Regions from separate parts of the Homo sapiens genome. Here all the other regions are linked to region 5. Evidence: promoter capture Hi-C in 16 types of primary human blood cells and fetal thymus (Javierre and others, 2016). All regions are on one chromosome and are shown on one strand. Each heading gives the region's core, a stretch centred on a gene start or on the middle of the fragment in contact. The rest is flanking DNA. Distances are from core to core; before and after follow the strand shown.

Region 1 (3,657 bases), core at 1,047-3,546, 790 kb after region 5:
AGCTCCTTTGGAAACTCAGTTGCTGTGAACAGCATTTGTACAAATGGCAGCCCATCGTGTGACACTTTCATGCTCCCTCTCAAAACCTCATGCCATCCCATTTAGACTAATTTTAAAAACTTAGCCTTGTGTTAAGCCAAGGGTTAATAAACTACAGTCCCTGGGCCAAATTCACCATTGCCTGTTTTGTAAAACAAAGTTTTACTGGAAAACACCCACACCTGCTCATTTCCATATTGTCTGTGACTGCTTTCACACTACCATAGCGGAGTTGAATACTCCTATAAAAATAAAAATATTTACTATCTGGCCCTTTACTAAAAAAAGTGGACCCCTGTGCTAAGCAATAACATTTGTAAAATCAGGGGATTGGCCAGGCGCAGTGGCTCATGCCTGTAATCCCAACACTTTGGGAGGCCGAGGCAGGCGGATCACCTGAGGTCAGGAGTCCGAGACCAGCCTGGCCAACATGGTGAAACCCCATCTCTACTAAAAATAAAAAAAATTAGCCAGGTGTGGTAGCAGGCACCTGTAATCCCAGCTACTAGGGAGGTTGAGGCAGGAGAATCACCTGAGCCCAGGAGGCGGAGGTTGCAGTGAGCCGTGATCACACCACTGCACTCCAGCCTGGGTGACAGGGGTCTCAAAAAAATAAATGAAATAAAACAAAATAAAATCAGGGGATTTCAGAGAACTTATGTTCCCCCACAATACACATCAAAATAAATACAGAAGTCTAGATGGTAATTTAAAATATACTCTCTCAAATGACCTAGTGTACCACCAGTGGTGTGCACACCCCACTTTGAGAAATACAGTAACGAGGATTAAATGAATGAACACTCATAAAGCACCAAGACTGAGAAACAGTAGCAGGTTGTCTTCCTCCCTTCAAGAGCAGTGTTACCAATCCAGCTGGCTTTTCCTTTCCAGTGGGTTTTTCCTTTTGTTGTGGGAGTAACTGGCCTGGCCAGATGATAAGAGTAATAACCAAGAGTAATTAGGCACTTACCAACTAATGTGCAGATACTAATGTGCTGAACTTTCATTCTTACAATGAGTTTATGAAGCAGGGGTATTATTATCCCCATTTTACAGAAGAGGAAATGGAAGCTTAGAGAGGCGCACCACCTGTCCAAAGTTCTACACCCAGGATGCTATTCTACACCAGCCACACATTACTCCTCCATGCAAACCCTCTCTCTAATCCACGTGGCGGAATCTACCCAAAGAGAATGATCTGAGATACGTACAAAGGCTGATGTACAAGGCCAATAACTGATGAAATTAATAACTTTTGAAGCTATTATGAATAACATAGGCCAATGTTATTTGTAATACCAAAAACCTGGAAAGAGCATTAGTCTAACAATGATAAATGATTCAACAAATTAAGATATAGTCCAATGACAGAATATTAAACAACCATGACAGGTGATACTTCTAAACATTTCATGACATCAGAAAATGTCTGTAATTTTTAAAGCAGAATACAACAAGCATATTCAACATAATGCCAGTTAAATTAAAATTCATACTGACATTGACAAAATACATACAAGACATCATTTAAAAAAGGCAAGAAGGAAGTATCTCTGGGAATAATATTACCAATGATTTTTGACTGAATGTTTCAAAATCATTTTGCTGTATTTCTGTAATATTCTACAATGAGTTCATATTTCCTTCTTCAATCACTGCTCTTCTCCCCACCTCCCAGTGTGAATGACAAATTGGCAAACTGCAGTGGGTTCTTCAGCATTTTTATTCAAATATAAAGGATTCTTATAAAAGCACTAGATTAGGCCAGGTGCAGTGGCTCACGCCTGTAATCCCAGCACTTTGGGAGGCCGAGATGGGCGGATCATGAGGTCAGCAGATCGAGACCATCCTGGCTAACACGGTGAAACCCTGTCTCTACTAAAAACTACAAAAAAATTAGCCGGGCGTGAGGGCGGGTGCCTGTAGTCCCAGCTACTTGGGAGGCTGAGGCAGGAGAATGGCGTGAACCCGGGAGGGGGAGCTTGCAGTGAGCGGAGATCATGCCACTGCACTCCAGCCTGGGCAACAGAGCAAGACTCCATCTCAAAAAAAAAAAAAAAAAAAAAAAAGCACTAGAGCACTAGATTAAAAACAAACCACAAGGAAAGAAAGGACTAGGACTTGGATGCAAAGAGGAGGAAGTGTTATATTTTTTCTTCTTCTGGGGAGGAGAGAAGGGAGGAAATTTCCATTTTTCAAGTGTAGCTCACTCTCAAATCCATGAGCTCTGGGCATGTAGTCTGCACCCTGGGTACTTCTGTAGATGGTTTGAATATGACATACACCCACACGATGTAATTGGGCCATCTGTCTATTGTTCCCCTGTGGTCTGAACCTCCACAGCAGATCACATGAGCTTTAAAGGTAGAGACAGATGTGTGTTCTAGTTATGAGTGTCCTTACCTCTCGGTACTCATATATCTCAGTGCCACCTGCCCTTAAGAACTCCCAGAAGGCTGGGCGTGGTGGCTCATGCCTATAATCCCAGCACTTTGGGAGGCCAAGATGGAAGGATCACGTGAGGCCAGGAGTCCAAGAACTTCTAGAGGCATTCACTGAAGGAAGAGCTACAGGAAGCCTGGACTCCTGCAGTTTCATCCGGCACAAGATCCAGGTGGGAGTAACAGGAAAATGTTGAACAAGAGTGAGAAGTGGAGTGAACTACAAAATGGCATTCTGAAAAGCCAGATGGCCAGTGTTAAGCCAGGTCCTGACATGCATGAGAAGGCATGCCTGCAGCAACTTCAGCATATTCCTTTCAACATAACCCGATTAACCTATGGAATCTGAGTTAATACCCACATTGAGGAAAGTGGCACTATAAAGTCAAGATTAGGAGACTGAGCCCTCTCTGCCTCAATCTGTCAGACTTCAGCCTTCAAGCAGCTGGAGAAACAGTGGGAGGGCAGCATTCTTGTAAACAAGCTAATCTTTTTAGAGTTAAGTAGGCAGTGACATTTGTTATTTAAAACATCAAACTTGGAAAAGACCAACTCACACTGTAAGAGCCTGCCCTTCTCTTACTCCCTTGCACTGGACTGGTGTGTTCTCTCTGACAAGTTCTCGGCTTTCTAACCTTCCCTCAGGTGGGACGGCAGGACAATAGCAGCCTGAGCTGAGAACAGGCCTCTCATCCTGCTTCCAACCTGGACTCATTACAAAGAAAAATGAACCAATTCTCATAGTCTTTGGGGAGTAAATTTTATAACTCCCTAAAGATATTCCCTACCTTGTACCCAAAGGTAGGGAACAGCAAAAAGACAAAAAGACATCGAGAGATACAGCAAACGGGGCTGCAGCGGGTGAGATGGGAGAAATGGTTCTTGCCCAGGGAAGTCTTGTTCTTTGTAATAATGAAAGGGACGAATCAATGACAAGTATCAGATAACTAGGTGACTGACACTGGCAGTGACCACTTCCTCAAAAAAAAAAGCTTAAGAAGAAACAATATCATACTTTCTTCTTCTTTATTACCAATACTCCCTTTTTCCCCTTCCCTTCTCTACTAGGTAAGAGTTTGACAAATTAGAGAATCTGGTGTCACTGATATAGATTCCTGACATTCTAGAAGCAAATCCAGGAAGGGTCCCCATGGGTAGCAGGGCTGGCAAAATA
Region 2 (3,867 bases), core at 944-3,443, 730 kb after region 5:
CATGCATCAACTCAATCTTGACAACACTGACTCTGAGATGGATCCTATTATTCTTCCCATTTTATAAACAAGGACACCTCTGTTTTCACCGTCTTCGGATGGTAGGTAATTTTCTGGAGGTCCCCCAGCTGGTAAGTGCTATAAATGGAATTTGAACTCAGGTCTGTTTGACTCCAGGACTTCCACTCTTCAAAACTGTGCCATTTCCAATTACATCAATGGAAAACATAGGTCATTGTCTTAAAGCAACCAAGTAATATATTCCCCAAACAGCGTGCTTAGTCTTCCAGAGTTTGATTTTATTTTATTCTCTATGGTGTGAGTCCTGACTAGAATACAGCCAAAGGCTCTGCTCTGATCCCAGGCTGTTCCTTCCCATCTTCACTGCCAGACCCTCCTCTTCCCACTTCTAAATGCTGTAGAGCCCCAGGACTCTGTCCTGGCTCCTCTCCTCCTCTATCCACAGACCTGCCCTCAGTGATCTCATCAGTCCTGTGGTTGATATACAAGAAAGAATAATCTGTATGCTGAGAGCTCTCAGTAGAACTTTTGGTGTCTTTACCCCAACACCCACCCACTCCACCACAACAATAAAACAAGACAAGACCTCCGTTTCTCCCCCAGTGAAGGCCAAAAACCCAGGAGTCATCCTTTATCCCCCTTCCCTACACATATCACATCTAGCTCATTGGTTAATCCTGTTGGCCTTATCTTTAAAAATATATCCCAAATGTGCCCACTGTTCAGCATTTCCACCACTACTACCCTAGTCCAGGCCCCAGTGTCTTTCATCTGCACTACTGCTTCAGCCTCCCCAACACCACACTAGCTCCTGTTCAGCTCATTTGCCATAGAGCAACTGGGTGTCCTTGGGAAAAGAAACACCCTCACCACAGATTGTGCCATTCACACCCTCAGAACCCTCCAGTGGCTCCCCATTACAATTAGAACAGAATTCAAACTTCTTCCTGAGGTCCCCAAGCTACCACTTCATCTGGCCCCTGCTTAGCTCTGCAAACTCAGCTTGTACCACACAGATCTTACTGTTCCGTGACCACGCCCAGGGTGTTTCCACACCAAGCAGGTGCCTTTCCCAGGGTTTTTGCACTTGCTGTTCCCTCTTCCTGGAGGAACCTTCCTCTACCTCTTCACAGGGCTTTGCTCTCTCACTTCATTCAGGTCATGGCTTAAATGCTACCTCCTCAGAGAGCCTTCCCTGACCACTTGGCCTAACACAGCTCCTTGTCCATCCTCAATACTTGGGCTTACTCTTACCTGAGGGCACTTACCACCACCTGAAATTATCTTTATAATGGATTTAGTCTATACTTCTATTTTTTAAAAAAATTTACCACTGTATTCACAGGTCGTAAATCCGGAGTAGGTACTCAATGAATATGTGCAAATATCTGCATCTTGCCTCAATTTAACTTTAAGCTCTAAGACAGCAGGGACTCTGTCTTGGGCACTGCTATATCCCCATGCCTAGAATAGCACTTGGTATATAATAGGCATCCCCATATTTGAAGAATGAATAAGTGAAAGGCTCCTAGCAGTCCTACATATAAAGGTCAGCTCCCATCTTATAGGCAAAAGAGTGACCAGGACTCACCTACTAGAATGGCCATCTGAACTTGTGTTTGAATAGTGTAAGGTCCCCCACTATCCAGAGGTAGGTCATACTCCTGAGGCTCCCCAGTATATCCTCCCCATCCAGATGCTCTGGAGCTATGTGACAGCTGGCTTGGTCTTTTAAAGAGGGAGAAGACCATGTGAGGCAACATGAGCCTAGGCTTTGGGCACCAGGAGAATCCTGCATCTCATCTATCTCTAGATTCTCCCTAGGCCCTGCAAAGCTTCTGTCAAACAAGCTCACTTTCCCTAGGCACGCTGCACCACTGGATCAATTTCCACCAATGTTACCATGCTAAGGCTATAGGGAAACGAGTCCACAGGTAAAATAGGTCCAATGTACACATAACAATATCCCAAGGAGTCATTGAGATGAAGCAAGTGCTTGCTCCAAGACCTGAACAAGGTAAATATATTTAAAAACATGTTCGTTTAATCCGGTCTGACAGTGAGAAGGGTTTGTATGGGGCCGACAATACCAGGCTGGTTGTCCCGTGTCTGGCACACCCTGCAGGTTTTTTCAGTTAAATGTAATAATCAAATCAGCTGCACAGCACCGTTAACTCTGAAAAGGCAAAGGGAGCTTCCTGGGTGATCTCCCTGCCTGCCTTTCTCCCGTGCCGACTACAAAGACCAAAGAATCGTAGCCTGGTAGCAAAGGTGTTTATAGACACATAGAGGACGCTGGAAACAGAGAAGGAGAAAAATGGGGAGGTTTCTGCTCTAGCAGTCTCCAAAGGAGAAAGCGCTTACTTCACAGTAGATGTCTGAGAAAAATAATGTTTCATAGGCTTCCTCCACCTAACTTGTTTGGTTGCCCAACTCTATAGATCCTTTGTGCCCTCCCATCCCTCTACCATTTCCAAACTGACTTTGCACTCAGACATGACAAAGCTTGTAAGCACTCCCAAGAGAGCACAAGTTAAAGGAGGGAGAGACAGGCCTTCTGCAGACTAGTTATGTGAAAACAAAGGAAAAGTTAAACACATGATAAGATAAAGTAATAATCCTAGCACTTTTCCCACAGCCAATATTATCCTTTACTGATCCAGCTGGAAATTACTCTGCATTTGCAGAGCACAATCAAGATATCAGGTGCATGTCTGGAAGTTTGGTTTCTTGAAATAAAAATGCCATGTATGTTTAGTGATGCTACCATAACCACCGGTTTCACCAGTCAGCCATCAAGAAAGTATTTAAGAACCCAAAGAGCTCAGATGCTAAGAAAGTCTCTAAAGTTGATTTTTCCACCTCTTAGGCCAATCAAACCCACCTGTCTTATTTCACCACAGTTGGACACAGGCCAGCTTTCAATGAATATGTCTGAATATCTGCCTCTTGCCTCAATTATAATTTAAGTTCTAGGACAGGTTTAAATTATTGATGTTAATAGGAGAGAAGCAATTGTCAATTGTCTCTGCTTACCAGCAAGACACATTCCTGAAAAGTTTTCTCTGAAACAAAATACTATTATCTGAAAACCTCCCCCACCCCGCCCAACTGCTATAAAATTCCAGATGTAGTCTGAGATGGCAAACTAAAAGCAGACTGAATCAATCTCTTCTCTAGCACGGTCCATCAGTGTCCACAGCCGAGGGAATAAAACGGACACACTCAGGTCTGGATACTGACCAAAATAAAAAACCAAAATCCGAATTGAAATCCAGCAGGGGCAGGACTAGAGTTAGACAGGAGACACACCCAGGCCACATTTAAAGAGGCCCTCACTCACTCTCGGGATGGTTGCAGGTTATTGCCTCCTTCAATTTTGCACCCAGGTGTCTCTTCTGCCTCGCCCTAGGCCCAGCCCTGCTAACACATCATTTTGGTGTCCTGACTTACTTTCCCTGCAATGAAACTTCATTTTTTATTGAGTTAGCGTAACATGATTGGCTGGGTAATGCAGGAACCTAAACTTTGTTAAGGTTTTTCTTTCTTGGTTGACTAGCCTGCTAGCTTCCTCCCTCCCTTCTTCCTGTCCACTCACAGAAGGTGAGAAAATACAATAGTTTGTTCATTTCAATGGTGGTAGAATATAGGAGAGGGCATGCAGAGATGAACTGGCCTTTAGAGGCTGGCAGCAAAGGTGAGAGGCAATCAGGGGCTTAAGGAGATTCCTGGAAACCAGGGTTGGGGGAGGGGAGATATGCTCAGTCTGCATCCCAGAAAAGAAGAGCCTAGGCACCAACAGCTACAGCCCCACCCTACTCTTGGCCTTCGAACCCTCTAGGTGGT
Region 3 (3,630 bases), core at 357-2,856, 660 kb after region 5:
TAGTTTCTAGCCTAATCAGCGTAGTTTCCAGTTGGCTCCACCCAACGGAGGAACAATAGGGTAGGGGGCTTTGACCAACGCTCTTTGTGTAAACAGTTCGATGCCTGTCTTGGAAGAGGAGCACTTCTATTGATTTCAGTGTATTTTATTATTTATAGTTAATTTAATTTGGGGTATTTTAATTCCTTTTTAAAATTATATCAATGTTTTTAATCTGGGTTGCTTTATGTTACATCAGGATCAAACAAATAAACAAAAGTAAACATTGAGTGTCCATCCACTGCCACCACGGAAAGAAATCAACACTAGGGGTTTGTTCATTGGTAGGGGGAGCAGTCTGAGAGCAAATAAGAAGAAGGAATAAAAATAATAGTAGAAACCAATTTTTATTGATTGGTTTTATTGATTGATACTCTGAACGAGGCCATTTACTAAGTGTTAGGAAGGCATTATCTTATAACCTTGAAAGTAGGTATTATTATTATTGCTACCATTTCACTGAAGAGGTTTAGCTTAGAGATAGCAAATAACTTTCCCAAGTTTACACAGTTAGGAAATGGCAGAGCTGAGGCTTGACCCTGGTAGATCCACAATCAGGCCACACAGGCTTTGCCCTGCCCCAGATTCTAAAGCTTACCAATGCTTTTCACGTGATATAACCCTATAACCCATTTCAGTCTTCGGAAAGCTATTTGTGGCCATACACTTATATATAAACAAAATCTCTGTTCTCTGAAAGGATCTCTACCATAGTAATGCCATCCATTATGAGAAATACATTTTCCCCCCTCAAAAGTAGAATGTCGATTTAGAATAGCATTTCCCAAACCATGGAATGCTCTTTCAAGAGGCTTAAGAGAAGTGCTGTAGAAATCATGTACTATGGTCAACGTATTTAGGAAATGTAGCGTAAGAGATGCCCCTTCAAGATGGACATATTAAAGGCTCAGAAGTTCTCTAGTCAATAATTTGTTGAACTGGCCAGGCATGGTGGCTCACGCCTGTAGTCCCAGCATTTTGGGAGGCTGAGGCAGGTGGATCACTTGAGGTCAGGAGTTCAAGACCAGCCTGGCCAACATGGTGAAACGCTGTCTCTGCCAAAACATATAAAAATTAGCTGGATGTGGAGGTGTGCACCTGTAGTCCCAGCTACTTGGGAGGCTGAGGTGGGAGAATTGCTTGAACCCAGGATGTGGAGGTTGCAGTGGGCTAAGATTACACCACTGACCTCCAGCCTGGATGACAGAGTGAGACTCTGTCTCGAGAAAAAAAAAAAAAAAAAAAGAAAGAATGTGTTGAACTTAGTCCAAAGCAGCTCTTGCCCCCTTCCCTTCCTGTACCAGTTTGGGAAATGCTGATTTAGACATCTCTAATCTGTCCACGCCGATGCTCATCCATCACCTTCAGTATCACATAGCCTGAGAGCTATTTTTCTGTCAATACCAGCATCTTGATCTTTTCATGTTACACACACAATAGATAAACAATAAAAACATCTACTGGCTTGATTAATTGATGCACCCACCCTGTCTTGATTTGTAACCAACAGGCACGCATTTGCGAAGCAGCTGACTGGGCTTTTGGGGGGAGATGGAAAGTGCAGCCCTGGTGAGCTAATAGGTTCCTGTGAAAAGCAAACCCATCCCTCCTCAGCTATATAAGCTGTGACTGATCCCAAAGGCCACGGGCAGAGCTCAGTTAAGCCCCAGTACTGTCATCACTGCACAGACAATCATAGGGTGCTGGTGATGACACAGGCTTGGCCCTGAGAGCTTTACACTGAGGTAAGTCCTGATTTTATTCTGGTGGAAGTCCATGAGCTTAACGCACTAGATCACTATGCACTATGGCTCTCAGACTTGAGCATGTATCAGAATCATCTGCAGGGTTTGGTAAAACACAGATTGCAGGGCCCTCCTTCCAGAATATGCTGATCCTATAGGTCTAGGGTGAGGCCTGAGATTCTGTAGATCTAACAGGCTCCCAGGTAACACCAATGATGCTGGTCCCAGGACCACACTCTGAGAACCAGTGCACAGAGCTAAGGGTCTGCCTTGGAAGACCAGTGTAACAGAGACCAAATGAAGCCTATGGTTGATCCTGCCTGGCTTTCCAGATCCCTAATGCAGAGAAGGAGTTAAAAACAAGATTCTAAGGCTGTTTCCAACTAGGAATGCTTTCCTAGCTAAGTAAGCATCTGCTTTCCAGATTGACTAAAAAAGGTTTCAAAAGCAGTACTTGAACTCTAATGTACTTTTAATTTACCCAATTTAGAATCTGAATCTACGAATAAGATCCCTCAGATTAAATACACAGAGGTAGAAACAATTCTAATCTAATCCTAAATAAGAAAAATAACACTTTAGATTTCCTTCAAAGTTCCCTCACAGGCATAACAATGTTGAAAAAGCCATGCGAAATCTTAAGCCTATTTCCTTCCCAAATATTCTACCAAAAATTTGAGATTTAAAATGCCTAACACTTACACAAATAAAATACAGTGTCATAAGGCATTTGAGGGCAGCTAAATTCAAAATGAAATTCAGTCATTCATACCTTTAATTAAACTCCAAAGCTTTAAGCATGTACTGTGTATGTCAGGGCAATTTTTGGAAACTGTTTTAGGTTATTTAGCAAGATTTATAAGTTTATAGAAAAAATACAGACCCTTTATATGATTTTAGCTTGTACAGGAGAAAAGAACAGAACAATATGTGTAAAGGAAAACATTTTTCCATTTGTGATTTCCACTCTGCTGGAAAACAGGGATGTGGCTAGGCATTCAAACGGCGCTCTGCCCTTACCTCCTCCCATACCCCCTCTGCTGACAGGCTGTAGAGATCCAAGTGCCACCGATGGGTCCCTGGTGCTTGGGAAAGAAACCCTGCTGGGTCACCAAGTGTGAGGTCTGTCTCAAGCAATTTTTATATTTTAAAAAAGAAGAACCACCACTAATAACCAACACATTTATCTCATAAAAATTGGATGAAGGCAGGAATTTCCACCCTCAACCAAGGGAAGCCCAGCTGGGCTCCCGATTGATGAGTGAGATCTTGCTTAGGGAAAGAGAAAAGTGGACATGAAGCCACTCAGAAAATGGGTCACACCAGTAACAAACTGAAAATGTCAAGGAAACGTGGCCTAGTTACAGGGCAGAGCTGTGGCCTCCACAGCCCAGGAGCCTGAGGTGACAGAGGGAGGGTATCTGGCATGTCCAAGAAACAACAATGAACGAGTAAGTAAGCTGGAATCCCCAAGGGCACTGTGGGGAGCAAGGAGGGGCAAATGAATCCTTTTGAAAACAATGAGGCGTTCAGGTTATTTCCAAAGGTGGGGAATGTCACCAACTTTTCAGGCAAATCGGTCTGAAGAGATCTTTTCTGCTTGGAGGTGGGTGAGAAACAGAATTCTCCATCTAAAAGGAAAGATCCTTCTCCACAAAAAGTTGATCCAGCCACAGAGGAAAACTTCCTCTTTCAAAGCCCCACATTCCAAAGGATGACAAATAGAGACAATTCTAGTAAAAGCATAGCAGCCTGTTTGGGTGTAACCCTTTGGCATAAAATAGCATGGGGATGGTAAAATTGCTTTTTAAAAAAAAAAATGCTATGAATTATCACTTGTCTAATG
Region 4 (3,780 bases), core at 176-2,675, 540 kb after region 5:
CCTTCTCTTAAAAACGTGTCCTGTACCCTGGGGTGGTTGATGGTGGAAAATACTAGTTGCCCACAGATTACAGAATGCCCTTTGGTTTGTCTAATATACAACAGGGAGCCTGTCTCACTAATGCCCACAGAAAAATCAAACATTTCTTCAAGTGATATGGAGCATATAGGGTACAGTCAAACCAAGGAAGAAAGTTGTTTATAAATGAGAACTATAGTGCAAGTTAAAATTTGCTCCTAGTTTTGCAGGTAAAGAGCCAGACTTTGGGTGTAGAAAAAAAGTTGAAAATACTGAGGCTTTTACATAAGGTGATTTTTTTTTTTTTTTTTTTTTTTTAGAATTTCAACTAATCTCTTTTAACTTAAGTCGTTCTTAACAGTATTGGTAACTTCATAGCACTTTCTTTCTGGTGAAATAACCCCATCCTCCCTCTTATTTAGGCTTCCTGTTTCCTAGTTAAAATGGGGCAGTACTTTGTTAGGGAAGTATTTTTACTTCACTTGGTTACAAACATGTAAGTCTCAGAACAAAAGAGTTTGTGCAGACCATATCAGACACTCAAAAGACTTTCTTCACTCTACCCACTTGAGTAAGAGACAATTTATATTCTGTTCACCTTATGTACCCTCACCAAAAATATTCAATAGGGTAATAATGTGTATATAATGTAAATAAGGCACACGTTTTTCTATTTTTGTTAAAGTTGCATTGTCTTAAAAGTACTGAGTATATACATGGGGTTTTGCTAGAAATAAAAATCTAGGTCATCCAAAACCTCTACAGTTGTTCACTAGGATTGCAAAGAATCAAGATAAAAATGAAACTCTTTCAATATGGCAAGAAAGGGGGACAGTGTGCATAAAAGCAAGCAAAGGCTCACAAAACAGGAGAATATGTCACAAACACCACCTGATCAATTTCAAGACCTACTATGTGGCAAGCATGCTAGATGAAGCAATTCAAAGACCACTAAGGCAATACTAAGACTCCAAGGAGAGGTTCCTGCCCTCAAGGAATTAAAGATGAAAGGCAAATGACTAAGCAATTCTACTCCTATGTATCTACTCAGAAGAGATGAAAACGTGTCCACACAAATGACTTGCATGCAAATATTCTTAGCAGCATTATTCTTAATAGTCAAAAAGTGGAAACAATTCAAATATCCATCAACCAATGTACAGATAAACAAAATGTGGCACACAAAATGTGGCTGGGCACGGTGGTTCATATCTGTAATTCCAGCACTTTGGAAGGCCAAGGCAGGTGGATCACTTGAGGTCAGGAGTTCGATACCAGTCTGGCCAACATGGTGAAACCCTGTCTCTATGAAAAATACAAAAAAATTGGCCGGGCACGGTGGCTCACGCCTGTAATCCCAGCACTTTGGGAGGACAAGGCGGGTGGATCACCTGAGGTCGGGAGTTTGAGACCAGCCTGAACAACATGGAGAAACCCTGTCTCTACTAAAAATACAAAATTAGCCGGGTGGCGCATGCCTGTAATCCCAGCTACTTGGGAGGCTGAAGCAGGAGAATTGCTTGAACCCGGGAGGCAGAGGTTGTGGTGAGCCGAGATAGCGTCATTGCACACCAGCCTGGACAAAAAGAGCGAAACTTCATCTCAAAAATATATATATATATTAGCTGAGTGTGGTAGCGCTCGCCTGTAGTCCCAGCTACTCGGGAGGCTGAGGTGGAAGAATTGCTTGAACCAGGGAGGTGGCAGTTGCAGTGAGCCAAGATCGTGTCATAGCACTCCAGCCTGTGGCAGCAGAGTGAGACTTCGTCTCAAAAAAAAAAAAAAAAAGTGACGAACCTCAAAATCATGCTAAGTAAAAGAATCCAGACACAAAAGGACCATATATTATTTCACTTACATGAAACGTTCAAAAAAGGCAAATCTATATAGAGAAAGAAAGCACATCAGTGGTTTCCTATGGCTAGGGATAATATTAGGGTTTAAGTGCAAATGGGCACATGAGGGTACTTTTGGGGGTGATGGAAATGTTCTAAAACTAGACTGTAGTAATGGTTGTGCAATTCTGTACATTTAATAAATGCTACACTTAAAATGGGTGGATTTTATATGGTATATAAATTAAATCTCAATAAATACGTATTAAAAATAGAGGCAGCCAAGCAAATGTGTAATTGCCATTCAGTTGTATCAAAAGCAGGTACAAATGCACTAAATGCACTTTGAATGCACTAAAACAAGTGCAGCTATTTTTTTTGGAAAGCCTGTCAGAAGATGTCTTCATTGTGCTACATGTTAAAGGATGAGCTGGAGTTCAGCAGCACAAAGCCTTACTCGTTTAATATTAATGGATGCCCCTGTAATGTTTAATTAGTCATATGTTCTACCCATCCCCAGAGAGGGCAACCATGTACAAAGAGATCACCAACATGACAAGTAAAAAAACTCACAGCATATACATGACTACTCATGTCTTGTATGAATTCTAAGTGTTAATAACTGTTAAGACCTTAGTGGTCTTACAACTTCGGAATAAACAAATCTGGGTTCAAGCCTTGCTTCTTTATTTACTAAGTCTGTGATTTTGAGAAAATTCCATAATCACTTTATATCTGTTTCTACATCTGAAAAATATATGTAGCTGCTTAGCTCAACTCCTACCATATAGCAAGCATTCAATACACGTTAGCTGTTTTTTAAGTCCTCATGAAAATCTAAGAGAAGGGGAATTTTTTAATGCTGTCCCCAAAAATGTATAGAAGTGAGGCAAATGATGAAGAGCAGTATGAACACAGTAACTGCACACAAATTTCCAACCCTGCATTTCTTAATTAATCAAAGCTATGCATAAGGCTGAGGGAGGCTGTTCTGTTATTTGCCAATTCTACAGAAACTTCCAAAAAAGCTGAAGCGGGGGGAATACTTCTCAACTAATTCCATGAGGTCTTCATTATTCTGATAACAAAATTAGACAAAATATAAGAAAACTGCACACTAATATCCCTCATGAACATAAATGTAAAAGTTCTAACCAAAATCTTAGCAAATAGAATATAATAATATATTAAAGGAAGATACATCATGACCAAAGGATTATCTCAGGAATATAGGTTTGACTTAGCATTTACAAATCAACCAATGCAATTCACAATAGTGGAAAAGAAAAAATCCATGTGATTAAGATGCCAGACAAACCATTTGACAAAATCTAACATACACTCTGAATTAAAAAAAAAAAAAAGATCAGCAAACTAGAAATAGAAGGAACCTCCTCAACCTAATAAAGGGCATCACACACAAAAAAATTATCTTCCAGCATTATACATACTTCATGGATACTTTCCTCTTAAGAACAGTAGCAAAACATGGTCTGCTCTCACCACTTTCATACACTATTTTACTGGTGTCTCCAGCCAATGCCATCAGGCAAGAAAGAGAGATAAAAGGCATCCAGATCACCAAAGAAGTAAAACTCTTTACTAACAGATGACGTGATCATCTGTTTAGAAATTCTGATGTGATCTTTAAAAATTAAAAAACACTACTAGACTTCAAAAAGGCTGGGCGTGGTAGCTCATGCCTGTAATCTCTGCATTTTGGGAGGCCAAGGCAGGAGGACTGCTTGAGGCCAGAAGTTCACGACCAGCCTGGGCAACACAGTGGGACCCCATCTCCACAACAATTTTTTTTTTTAAAAAATAACTGGGTATAATGGCACATGCCTGTTTTCCTAGCTACTTGGGAGGCTGAGGTGGAAACATCACTTGAGCCTAGGAGGCTGAGGCTGCAGTTAGCCATAGTCAC
Region 5 (4,108 bases), core at 1,520-4,019:
GGTCAGGAAGAAAACCTGGTAGAAGCCACACAATATTTGTGCAATAGCCACAGGTATTTGTGGGCACAGGTGAAGCACTACTTTGAAGGATAACTTTTAGTGGGGACAAATTCCATTTTGAGAAAGTAGGAGACTAAAAGATAAAATTTTTATAATTATGACTCTATTTGTAGGTGAGGCCAGCTTGGATTATGCTAATAATAAGGTATACACTAATACTGGTTACTTTCTGAAGTTTATGACATAATTTTAAATATAATTAGAGACGATTGAAGATTACCCCTATAATGACAGCATCCTTGCATATTAGTTTTTCAATATCTTGAGTGATAAAAAATGAGGAGGATGTGAGATGTTGTGCTGGGAAGTGCACATAGGCCTCAGACTGTCCTCTCTCTGACAGCTAAGTCCTGAGTGAGCTCCTACTATGAACTGAAACGCAAAAAATGGAAAGAGCATTTGTTGGGGCCAGTGTAAGTCAACTGTTTCCATCCTTATTCCTTAACTCAAAAACTCAAATAAAGAAAGACATTGTCAATTTCATGAGCGGTCCATATTTTTTTCTATTGACGAGAGACAAAGAATAACAAATAAAAGTATTTTATAAGGATATGAGTTATAAAATTAACTTTTTGTTATCTCCAAATTGTTATTTTGCAAGGAAAAAAATATAAGTAACAAATATGAGTATTCCTTTTTTTGGATCCATATTTGGCTGGATGCAGCCTGGACAGGTGTCATGGTTATAGATTATTGTCATGTGTCTCAGTTGTGATTTCAGTATGCTTATTGCTAGTTCTTTTATTTTGCCAATGGCTACATTTTTAATAAAGAAAAAGACAAGGATAGATGAGGAAAATATAGAACATTTTTATCTTCAATGCATGTCAGTAAGAATGATGCTATGAAATTTCAGTTAATAATGAAATTGGAGCTACAAAGACCAAATCATAAATAAAATGAATTTGCAATAGTGTTACTCATAGTAACACATAAAAATATGAAAATATCATGTGCCATATTTGCCTCTGCACTGAGTTATATCTGTACTTCTGCTTCAATACTGTAATTGGCCATCTCATTTCTATTGCCTATGGAGCAAAAGTCTGAAATAAAAAAGGTATGTTCATATTTATTACTTATATTTTTTTCCTTGCAAAATGACAATCTGGAGATAAAAAAAGTTAATTTTATAATTCACATCCTTACAAAAGAATTTTATTTGTTATTCTTCCAAAGGAAATCCACATGCCATTTACTTTATCTCTCACCAATAAAAAAAAATATGGACTGCTCATGAGACTGACAATGTCTTTCTTCATTTGAGTTTCTGAGTTAAGGAAACAAGGATGGAAACAGTTGACTTATGCTGGCCCCAACAAATGCCCTTTCCATTTTTTACTTTTCAGTTCAGCTAACATTTATTGACAGCTTTTACTGTGCCAAGCACTGTGCTAGATGCCAAGGATACAGAAATGATTAAAACACAGTTCCTTCCCTCAAGAATCCCATGCTCTGATGGAGGAGGCGAACAAGTGCTTTAGGCCAAAATGTAAAACTATGAGGGCACCAAAAAGGGAGTGGTTTATTTTGCCTGGAAAGAAATAAAACCTTCATAGAAGAGGTGACATTTGAAAGGGGCCTTGAAGGAAAAAAGGGAAGGTCGGTAGTTGTCTGTATGAAACAATAAAACAGCATAAAAATTCTAAAAGAAAGTTCTGTTTGTATTCTGTGGGCTACCTGTGCAACTGGATCTGAGCATTCCCTGGGGTGGCTGAGGGGGCTGTGTGGACCAGACAGAGCACAGGCTTCCCCGGCCTCATCAGTCCAGGCTGAGTGACCTCCAGTTGCAGGAAGGAGAAAACAGCAGATCCCTTCAGTGCACGGCACCAACACCTCCTATAACGTCAACCCAGGGCTCCGTGTGTCCTCTTCAAGAGGAGAAAACAAGACAAAAAAACAAACAAACAAACAAAAAACACGACAGCAGGGCCTTTCTGCCATTTCCTGGCTCTGAAATGAGGTTAGTGAGTTAAGGAATGAAGCCATCGTGTCTTTATCTGTAAACTGGGGAAAGCTATACCCCCCTCAAGTGCTTCTGTGAGGATGAAAGAGAGAAATGCATGCAAAGCCCCCGGCACATGATCCTAAGAAGTGGGAGCATGGCGATGATGGTGATGATGGTGGCCATGCTAAGGATAAAGGACGGGTCTGGTCTCTGGGCTGCCTTGGGAAGCCTGAGCATCCCACGCGGTGGGCAAGAACAATGTGATCTTGGCTACCCTGGCTCCGACCCAGAGGGACTTCCTGCCCATCTGCACTTCCCTTGCCGTTGTCCTTGTGGCTCAGGTGGTGCAGGCAGCTGCTCCAACTGCTGCCTCTGGTGCCCTGACAGCTGCAGGCAGCCAGGCAATGGGCTATGAAACCGAACCTCAACTGGAAACTATCCGCCCTAAATAATCCCAGCAACAAGGGCCGTCTCACTCCTCTCCCCTGCCTTCCGCCATCCCTGTTTTCACCTGTTGTGGTTTCCCTCTCATTCCACCAGCATTTTCTTTCATTTTCTCTGCCCCTTCGCTGCCTCTTTCCCTCTCTCTCTGTTCTCCCTCCTCCTCGCTCCCTCACCTCTTTTTTCTTCTCTGCATTCTGGCTGCTCCTCCAGTTCTGGTTTCTCCACTGTGGTGTGGCAGAGGATGTGAGGTCAGAAGGCTCAGGGCCTGCCCGGCTTCTGAGATGCGGGGCAAGCCGCCTCGGCCTCCTGGGATGTGGTTTCCTCATCTGCAGAATTGGACCAGAATGACTCTGGAGTGTTCCTTCCGTTCTAAACTCCCGTTCTGTTACATTGTGTTGTGTTAGCCTTTGTGCCTGCTTTTCCTGCTTCAGCTGTCTCATCTGTCCACCTGCCTCTTCCATCTGCATCCCACCACTCGGGTCCAAGCTGCCAGCATCCCTTGCAAGGACCCCTAGAGCAGCCTCCTGCTATTGGAGGTCTCTCTGCTCCTGTTCTTATCCACATCCAATGTGTTATCCACACAGAATCCACAGTGACCTTATCAAAATAGAGATGAGATTGCTCACTCAGCTTAAATCCTCCAAACTCCTTTACACCCCTTTTCTATCATAGGTCCCTGTTTATGTTCTTCAGAGTAATTATTATTGCCTGAAATTATCTTTATTTACTCATGAATTTCTTAATGTTGATGTATCATTTGCTGTCTGTCTTCCACACTAGAATGCAGGCTCCAGGAGTGATGGACTTGATTGTCTCGTTTACTCCATATCCTCACTGGAGGGGCCAGCGCCTTTATTCTCTCCATAAACACTGAATGAAGGAACCTCCCTTTGCCGCAGAATCCATCTCTCCCCTTCTTGAGAGTATTCTCTCCTAACCACACCATTTCTTACTTAGAAATACCTGTGCCTGCCAGAAATCCTGCCCATCCTTCTCTGTCATTTCTGATATAATTCCCCTCATTCACTTTTCTCAGTCAGCCGGGTCCTGTGTTCCCATGGGCTATGGTAAAGAACAATGGCAATGATGAAGCTAGTTCTTCTTTCACTTTAATGTCAATCTGTGCCGTTGGATGCCTTAAGATAAAATAACTTAACAACTCTGAGACTTGAATCTAGTTAATTGTCTTACAATGCTGAGAAAGAGACTTCTTTAAGAAAATATATTAAAACTTCCAAAATTCTGTGCTTGGTTCTTGGGGAGATGTTAGGAGTAGCCATTTTCTTTAAAACACCTCTTTAAAGTAGGTAATGTTAATATGTCCATTTTACAGGTAACAAAACTGGGATTTAGAGAGTGCACAACTGGACAAGGCCATAGAGCCAGAGGTGCATGGAGCCAGGATTTGAATGGAAGAAGTGCAACGCCAGACCCAGGCACCTAGCCACCACATGGGTGACCCTAGTCACCCTCTCACTCCCTAGATTAGATTACTCTGCATTATTTTCACCATAACACTTATAAATACCTGATGCGATCATATTTCTTGTGTCTATTTGCTTCCATTATAACATAAACTCCATCCAGGCAGTTACCATATCTGACCTGTTCACTGCACTTATTCCAATACTTACAATAGTGCCTCATACATAATGG
Region 6 (3,504 bases), core at 161-2,660, 580 kb after region 5:
TCACTGCAAGCTCTGCCTCCTGGGTTCACACCATTCTCCGGCCTCAGCCTCCCAAGTAGCTGGGACTATAGGCACCTGCCACCACGCCCGGCTAATTCTTTGTATTTTTAGTAGAGACGGGGTTTCACCATGTTAGTCAGGATGGTCTCCATCTCCTGACCTCGTGATCCGCCCGCCTCAGCCTCCCAAAGTGCTGGGATTACAGTCGTGAGCCACCGTGTCCGGCCTCACATTGTTAAATTTTTTAAAAATTTCACATTACATATTTCCAGCCAGCAAAGCACGGCTGGGCCCTCTGTGGGGGCTGCCTCCATGCCACATCCCCAAAGATGAAGTGACTGGCCAACACTTGCAGCTGGAGTCCCCGGGGCTGCCCAGGGAATGAGGAGTATCTGCACAGAGCTCAAGAAATGGGGAACTATTCACCCAAGATGAGTAAGCAGAGGGCTCCTAGAAGGAAAGAAAATTTTTAATCCAAACATTTCCTGCTCTTATTCCTGCCACTGGAAAACCAAAGCTGAGTGTGTGCCAGAGATTGTGCTTTCTGAAGGGCTCACTGCTGAGAAGGGCAAAATGAGGTTGTCAACATGGGTTCTGCAAAGGGAGGAGGCTGATGTGGGGGATGGAAGAACCAAATCAAAACCAGAAGGAAAAACTGCCACGAAATTTTAAAGTGATCACGTGTGATGTGATTATGCATTTATGTAAAATTATGTGTGTGTATCTATAAATAAATTTGGAAGTTTTAAAAGGTCATATGGTCCCAGCACATTGGGAGGCTGAGGCAGGCAGATTGCCTGAGGTCAGGAGTTCGAGACCAGCCTGGCCAACATGGTGAAACACTGTCTCTACTGAAAATAAATAAATAAATAAATAAATAAAATACAAAAATTAGCTGGGCATGGTGGCTTGCACCTGTAATGCCAACTACTCAGGAGGCTGAGGCAGGAGAATTGCTGGAATCGAGGAGGTGGAGGCTGCAGTGAGCTGGAATCACACCACTGCACTCTAGCCTGGGCAACAGACTGAGACTCCATCTCCAAAAAAAAAAAAAAAGTCATATGGGCTGTAGAAGCAGAGAGACCTGTGTTTGAACTTTAGGTTCACCGCCACCTGGCTTGTGTGACCTCCCTGATCCTCAGTTTTCTCATCTATAATTATAGATGATTATAGAACTTCATTCAAATGTCTTGGGGATTCAGTGATTAATATAGTACAGCGTTAGGTACCTAGTTAAATGTTAGCTAATATTGTCAGTCATTGAGAGAAAACAGAGCCTAAAGGCTAACAGGCGGGGTGGGTAAGGGTGACTAGAGTTTTCAATTCTCCAGAAAGCCCTGACTCCTCATGTTTCAGTCACATTGAAATCATACCTAACCACCCAGCCACCTCTCTCTCTCTGCTCTTTCTCCCCACTCCCACCTTCCCCATTTCTCTCTCTCCCCCCTTCATTCTTGATCCTTGCTGTCCTTCTGCTTGGGACATGTCTCCATTTGCCTAAGTGGGAAACTCTTCTCTATCTTTCAAGGTCCATCTTGAATGCCACCTCTTCCGTGAAACTTTCTCTGGTTCCTATTTCCCAGTAGGAAGGATGCCTCTTCCTCATCGCACTGCACTACCTGCCACACACTGCTAGTATGGTCATACCACATGGCAAACGCTGTTCCTTGTATATTTCCCTATGGCAGAAGCCAATTTTGAGTTCCCTGAAGACAGAGATCATGTCTTACACTTCCTGGTTGTAGCAGCTCCGGCATGGAAGAGGTGGTCAATAACTGATGGCTGAATGGAAACATAAAAAATCGAGGGTGATTGCTCTCAATGGGCCATGGCCAGTTACTCCCCACTGTAAGGAAAAACAGAACGGAAATGGACTTAAGCTGCCACATGGGAAACTTCAGTCAGACCCAAAGAATTCCCTCAGTGAGAGTGTTAGATATCAGACCAAACTCCTGTGGGACAGTGTGGAATTTCCGTGAAGGGACTTTACAAAGGAATACTTCTTTTATGTTTGGGGGTGATTCTGATGTGGTTTTGCTTGAAGGCAGGCCCTTTTCACATAAGGTTCATGAAACAACCCCTAAGTAACCCAGATGACAGCACAGGGTCTCGGGCTCTTGGTCAGCTGCTTCTCCAGATGGTTTCTTGTGCCCAGCACCAGCCAAGGAGGCTGGGAAAGAATGTGGCTGTGTGTGCCTGAGTGGAGGGTGGGAGGTCTTCCTCCCACAAGCTCCAATCCCAGTATGTGAGCAAATGGTGCGTTTTGCCAAGGGTCACAAAGTTACCCTGTGTTCAAGTACCCAAGTGTAATAACATGCAATTTCTTTCTTCCAACTATAACTGTAGAGTAAAACAGGGAGGAGGAACTGCCTTCTAGTGCAGTGCTTTCCCCACTTTTTTTCCCCTTGGTCAGCCCACCCAGGGGCTATGAGCACCTGCTGCATGCCAGCCCTGGGCTGGGTACTGGGCAGAGATGAACAAGACCTGGTCTCTGTCCTAACTGAGCTGTTTATTAAGAGCAAGATGGGCCTCAAACATTTGATGACAAATCATGAATTAATTATAGGTAGAAAGTACATGAGGGAGAAAAATGGTGTGATAGGAGAAAAGGTGTAACAGAAAGATGGCCATCCTCTACGGCCATAATTTCAACTTGCTCATCACAGGTGAGGCAAGCATGACTACTCCTTTTCTTTGTCACGAAGATTCAGAAAAGGTAGAAAAACAGTTAATAATTCTTTCCAATAATCTACCCCCACCCACAAATCCCAAAAGGACATCCAGCCACAGTGTCAGAACAAATATTTCAAGTTTACGGTGGGCACAAGACCTGGAGGGTAAGATGTGATTTGGCACCTAAAGAAAGAACCCATGGACTCACGTTTTTACTAATTTGCTGGTTGGCCTGGGGAAGGCATCAAAGCTACCTGGCTTTCAGCTAATAGGAAGTTGCAGCAGGCTTCATGGAGCCAATGACGTAAGAGACGTGACAGATTTACAGTGCGACAGGAGTTGCTAAGTGCTGTGGGATACAGAGGGTCTCCGTGTTGATCATTTCAACTTAAAACCTTCTGGCTTTGGTCCTCACTGTCTGATGTTGACTGGGTACCGCAGGGTGGCTTTCTGAAGGATGCATCCCGGCATGGGCATGCCCCTTCCCTGCGGATGGTTATGCAAAGCTCCTCCATGTGACAAACCTCACCCACCCCGAGCAGTTACCATGGAGGTTAGAGCCTCCCTTGGCTGCTGTGCAGGCTGCAGTCAGCCAACACTGACTAACCCCGCATAGTTAATTAGTGGCAGCTTAGCTTGGTGCTATTAAAAGCAGGGCAAGCCAATGACACTGACACATTCAGGTAGGAGAGAAGTGTGGTATCTGAGTGGAGGTTGGGAAAGAACTGAGAAAATAAGAAATTAGAGCCATGACTTAATTCTCATGAGCAAGCGTGTTTGGGGTCTGAGAAAATCTCTCATCACACTCACTCTCTAACATTTACCTAATTT
Region 7 (3,849 bases), core at 201-2,700, 770 kb after region 5:
CAATTAGACTAGTAAGGGTTTACTTTTAAATTAAACATCTAAACAAAAAATCAAAAACTAATCCACTGCAGTGTTTCTGTTCATTTAAATACATGGATTAGATCACCACTGTACCATTTACAAAAGAAGGCAATTTAGACCAGGTGACTTGAAATGATTTTTCTCCTATTAGTTCCAGGCCCATCATATCTGACCCCTCTCAAGTAATAGAGCTCCAGCTTCCTATTTTATTCCTCTGATGTCCATTCTTCAACCAGTAGCCAAAGTGAACTGTCTAAAGTGCAAATTAGTTCATATCACCTCTTCTCTTAAAACCCTCCAATAGCTTCCCATTGCACTTAGACCATAATCAAAACTACTTACAATGGCCTATAAGGCCTATACTATCGAGCACTGACTACCTCTGATTGCATCATTGACCACATGCATTCTGCTCCACACACTGGCCTTCCTGTCACCTCAACATGCCAAGCTCATGGCCCCACCTCATAGCCTTTGCTCCAGCTGTTTCCTCTACCTGGACTGCTCTTCTCCCAGAGCTTTTCATCATTCAGATCTCAGCTTAAATGCAACCGCTTCAATCTAATGCAATCCACAATCAACATTACTGGTCATTCCCTTACCCTGTTTTCTTTCTTTATAGCAGTTAACAATATCTGAAATTATGTTTGTTATTTGATTATTTACTTGTTTTTTCTGTTACATTCTCAATAGAATGTAAACAGTAATTGTGTCCTGTTCACCATTACATCCTCAGTCCCTGGATCAGTATATGGTACATGATAATAAACAAAACACGAGATTATACTCCATCAAGGCCAGTATAAAATACTTGGGGGCCAAAACACAATCTTCCAAAAGAAACTCAGGAAAGGACCAATTCTGCAGTACTTTCAACAAGACCTATGTAGACATGGAACTAATGAATAAAAAGAAGTGGTCTGGAATGATAGAATTTTACAGCTAAAAAGGACCTGTAAAATCATGTACATCATTCTGCATGATTCACGGACTAGGAGTCCCTGGTCAAAAACTTCAAAAACTAAGTGATGGGTCCCAAGTTACTCAGTGGCAGAAACTTGATTCAGTAACATGTCAGCTTGTGGGCTTGAAAAGTCTTAAGTGTCTCTACTTCTTCTATCCTTGTGCTTTCCCGGGACTTTACACAATCCCACCTCCCACTGGACAATTGTCAAATCCCAGAGAGTATGGGAAGTCTGTTCATCTCTGATCACCATAAATACGTATGCACATACACACACTGCAATCGGGAGATACCCACTTTTTTCAACTATTTACGCTAAAATGGCACCTAACTCATACTGTCCTTATTTCTTCTTTGTGCTCAATGAAGACTTTCGTAGAAGTTAAAATACATCATTTCCATTTTCATTTTAGAGGGGGAAGAGGAACTTGTACACCTCTTCTTCTCCTACTTATTGTATTTATTTTGTAGTTTTACATCAGAAAAAGTTGTCCTCCTGAGCTACCAGTTTGCATTTACTACAGACTCTGTGAACAGTTTTAAATGATTAGGTTTCTCTCTTGATTTTGGCTGCTGAAGACTGAGAGACGAATAGGTGGCCCAGCTCAAGCAAGTATATGAACTTTACTGGGGAAAGAGATTTTTTTTTTTTAGACTCGCTTTTGGCTCCATTTTTGTGCCTCTACCTTTAAACTCTGTACATTTTATTCTCGGTCTTTTCTTTTAAATTTAAAAAAAAAAATTAAAACTCCTGTTGAAAGTTAGACCGTGCACAGTGGCTCATGCCTGTAATCCCAGCACTTTGGGGAGGCCAAGGTGGGCAGATCACTTGAGGTCAGGAGTTGAAGACCAGCCTGGCCAATGTGGTAAAACCATCTCTACTAAAAGTACAAAAATTAGCTGGGCATGGTGGCAGGCGCCTGTAATGCCAGTTACTCAGGAGGCTGAGGTAGGAGAATCGCTTGAACCTGTGAGGCCAAGGTTGCAGTGAGTAGAGATTGAGCCACTGCACTCCAGCCTAAGCAACAGAGCAAGACTCTGTCCCCTCCAAAGAAAAAGAAAAAAGAAAAATTACCTTAGTAATGAACACTTCAAAAAAACTTAGAAACTACAGTTAAGGTAAATAGATGAGTCAAAGGGAAACAGTAAAAATCAGCAGACAGCCACTGAGAACACAATGAAACCTGTGCAATATGACCACTCCTCTCCCCACTGCTCCCAGAACGGGCTCATACTGAGCAGCTGCTTTGTAACTTGCATTTTTCACGTATTATAAATAATTTTTAAAATGCCATATGTCTGTAATCCCAGCACTTTGGGAGACCGAGGTGGGTGGATCACAAGATCAGGAGATCGAGACCATCCTGGCCAACATGGTGAAACCCCATCTCTATTAAAAATACAAAAATTAGCTGGACGTGGTGGTGTGTGCCCGTAATCCCAGCTACTCAGGAGGCTGAGGCAGAAGAATCCCTTGAACCAGGGAGTTGGAGTTTGCAGTGAACCGAGACTGCATTACTGCACTCCAGCCTGGGGACAGAAAGAGACTCTGTCTCAAAAAAAAAAAAAAAAAAAAAAAAAAAAAAGGCCGTATGTCAAAAAATGTATTTCCATTGCATTGTCAGTGATTCACAGTTTTTTACTACACAGATGTACCACTGTTGATTTAACCCATTTTTGAGACATTTGGCCCGTTTCTGATTTTGTACCTTAACATCACCACGGTGTAAACATCCTTATGGCTCAATCTGGCCCATATCCTTATTTCCTCAAGACCAATTCCCAGAAATGTCACCTACTTCTACTTTATATTCTCTGGATATATCTTACATACCTTTACAAGATGCCTTAATTCTTTATTTAAGAGAGGTACAGGGGAAATAACTGAACATTTTAAAAAATGTTTCCATACATTACAACTGTTTTGGAAAAAATATCTTTTGACAGTATACATAAGGGTAGGTTTTTAAATTCTCTCTCTTCCCTCTACTTAATGCCTCACAGTCCTTATGGAAAAAAAAGTGTATATTTCTCAACTGGCAAGTTATGAATCCTGCTTTAAAAGAGAGAATTTCTTTCCACTACTTAAAAAGGGCTGGTAGGCTGAGAGGCTGTGAGTAAATAAGATTCACATCTCTGACAACGGTTCAAATCAAATCCAGTGGAAAGATGGTTAATAGCTTTTCTCAGCGGTACAACAGACCAGCAAACTCAAAGCTTCAAACTGCTGGGACTGAGGAATCTCCTTTGTGGCTGTCTCTGAAGAAGGGATGGAGACCATCAGGATGAACCAGCCTCCTTGATCTTAATGTCCTGCTCCCACAGACCTGGGAAAGATCAGTGTGAACATGGGCCTGACCCCTTTTCTCTACCTGGGTGGTCCCCAGGGACTAGCTCCCCAGAGCATCTTGGGTTCACAGACCCCAAGATGTCTGCCAGAGAAAATTTAGGGTGTCTGTGAACTTAGACAGGAAAACAATTACATCTTTATCTTCACTAACCTATAACTGACATTAAGCATTTCCTTCCTTTATGGATGTAAGCAACAAATTACAGGAGCATTAGCGGTACCTGCAACTTGGTCAGAAATCACAGATATTTTCATAACACATTACAATTATTATGGATATCTTGAAATATCACTGCTCCCAAATTATGTCAGTTATCAGACCCACCACTATCACTTATAAAGTGTTAACAAAGAAACACATATATCATGATACCCTGTGTTTTTTAATATTTTAAAAATCGAATTTCAGTAACTGGTTTCTATAATCATACGTATTTTAGATATTTAACACATTCTTCTGATCAGCCAAAGAAGTTGGTGACACAAAATCAGTTAGGACCTCCTGCTTGAGACC

Evidence for each region. The method cuts DNA at HindIII sites, captures the fragments that hold promoters and counts their contacts. A CHiCAGO score of 5 or more calls a contact.
Region 1: a contact is called between a fragment that was not itself captured here and the fragment with the promoter of HMHB1 in region 5, in 7 of 17 cell types (erythroblasts, total B cells, non-activated CD4 T cells and 4 more). The highest score is 9.3, in erythroblasts.
Region 2: a fragment that was not itself captured here is called in contact with the fragment with the promoter of HMHB1 in region 5 in 1 of 17 cell types (naive CD4 T cells); the score reaches 5.4 in naive CD4 T cells.
Region 3: a fragment that was not itself captured here is called in contact with the fragment with the promoter of HMHB1 in region 5 in 1 of 17 cell types (naive CD8 T cells); the score reaches 6.8 in naive CD8 T cells.
Region 4: a contact is called between a fragment that was not itself captured here and the fragment with the promoter of HMHB1 in region 5, in 1 of 17 cell types (M1 macrophages). The highest score is 5.4, in M1 macrophages.
Region 6: a fragment that was not itself captured here is called in contact with the fragment with the promoter of HMHB1 in region 5 in 2 of 17 cell types (naive B cells and M2 macrophages); the score reaches 5.5 in naive B cells.
Region 7: a contact is called between a fragment that was not itself captured here and the fragment with the promoter of HMHB1 in region 5, in 6 of 17 cell types (erythroblasts, total B cells, naive B cells and 3 more). The highest score is 7.4, in erythroblasts.

Annotation. Positions count from the first base shown.
Region 1 is chr5:143,019,087-143,022,743 of GRCh38, reverse strand. All of the region lies in intron 12 of ARHGAP26 (Rho GTPase activating protein 26), which reads right to left. Among named protein-coding and RNA genes, the nearest start is that of ARHGAP26-AS1, 150 kb to the right of the region's middle. RefSeq lists enhancers at 749-838, 2,519-2,728, 3,149-3,198. The HindIII fragment of the contact is 2,362 bases long and covers 1,116-3,477 here.
Region 2 is chr5:143,077,811-143,081,677 of GRCh38, reverse strand. All of the region lies in intron 17 of ARHGAP26 (Rho GTPase activating protein 26), which reads right to left. Among named protein-coding and RNA genes, the nearest start is that of ARHGAP26-IT1, 110 kb to the left of the region's middle. The HindIII fragment of the contact is 670 bases long and covers 1,859-2,528 here.
Region 3 is chr5:143,154,827-143,158,456 of GRCh38, reverse strand. All of the region lies in intron 20 of ARHGAP26 (Rho GTPase activating protein 26), which reads right to left. Among named protein-coding and RNA genes, the nearest start is that of ARHGAP26-IT1, 36 kb to the left of the region's middle. The HindIII fragment of the contact is 1,943 bases long and covers 635-2,577 here.
Region 4 is chr5:143,272,382-143,276,161 of GRCh38, reverse strand. No RefSeq gene overlaps it. Among named protein-coding and RNA genes, the nearest start is that of ARHGAP26-IT1, 82 kb to the right of the region's middle. The HindIII fragment of the contact is 6,040 bases long and covers 1-3,780 here.
Region 5 is chr5:143,810,822-143,814,929 of GRCh38, reverse strand. It overlaps HMHB1 (histocompatibility minor HB-1), which reads right to left and starts at 2,769. Exons shown (of 2, transcript NM_021182.3): 1 at 2,626-2,769. The coding sequence starts at 2,662. The HindIII fragment of the contact is 5,854 bases long and covers 1-4,108 here.
Region 6 is chr5:143,230,183-143,233,686 of GRCh38, reverse strand. No RefSeq gene overlaps it. Among named protein-coding and RNA genes, the nearest start is that of ARHGAP26-IT1, 39 kb to the right of the region's middle. The HindIII fragment of the contact is 6,240 bases long and covers 1-3,504 here.
Region 7 is chr5:143,037,407-143,041,255 of GRCh38, reverse strand. All of the region lies in intron 13 of ARHGAP26 (Rho GTPase activating protein 26), which reads right to left. Among named protein-coding and RNA genes, the nearest start is that of ARHGAP26-IT1, 150 kb to the left of the region's middle. RefSeq lists an enhancer at 3,583-3,849. The HindIII fragment of the contact is 3,509 bases long and covers 1-3,204 here.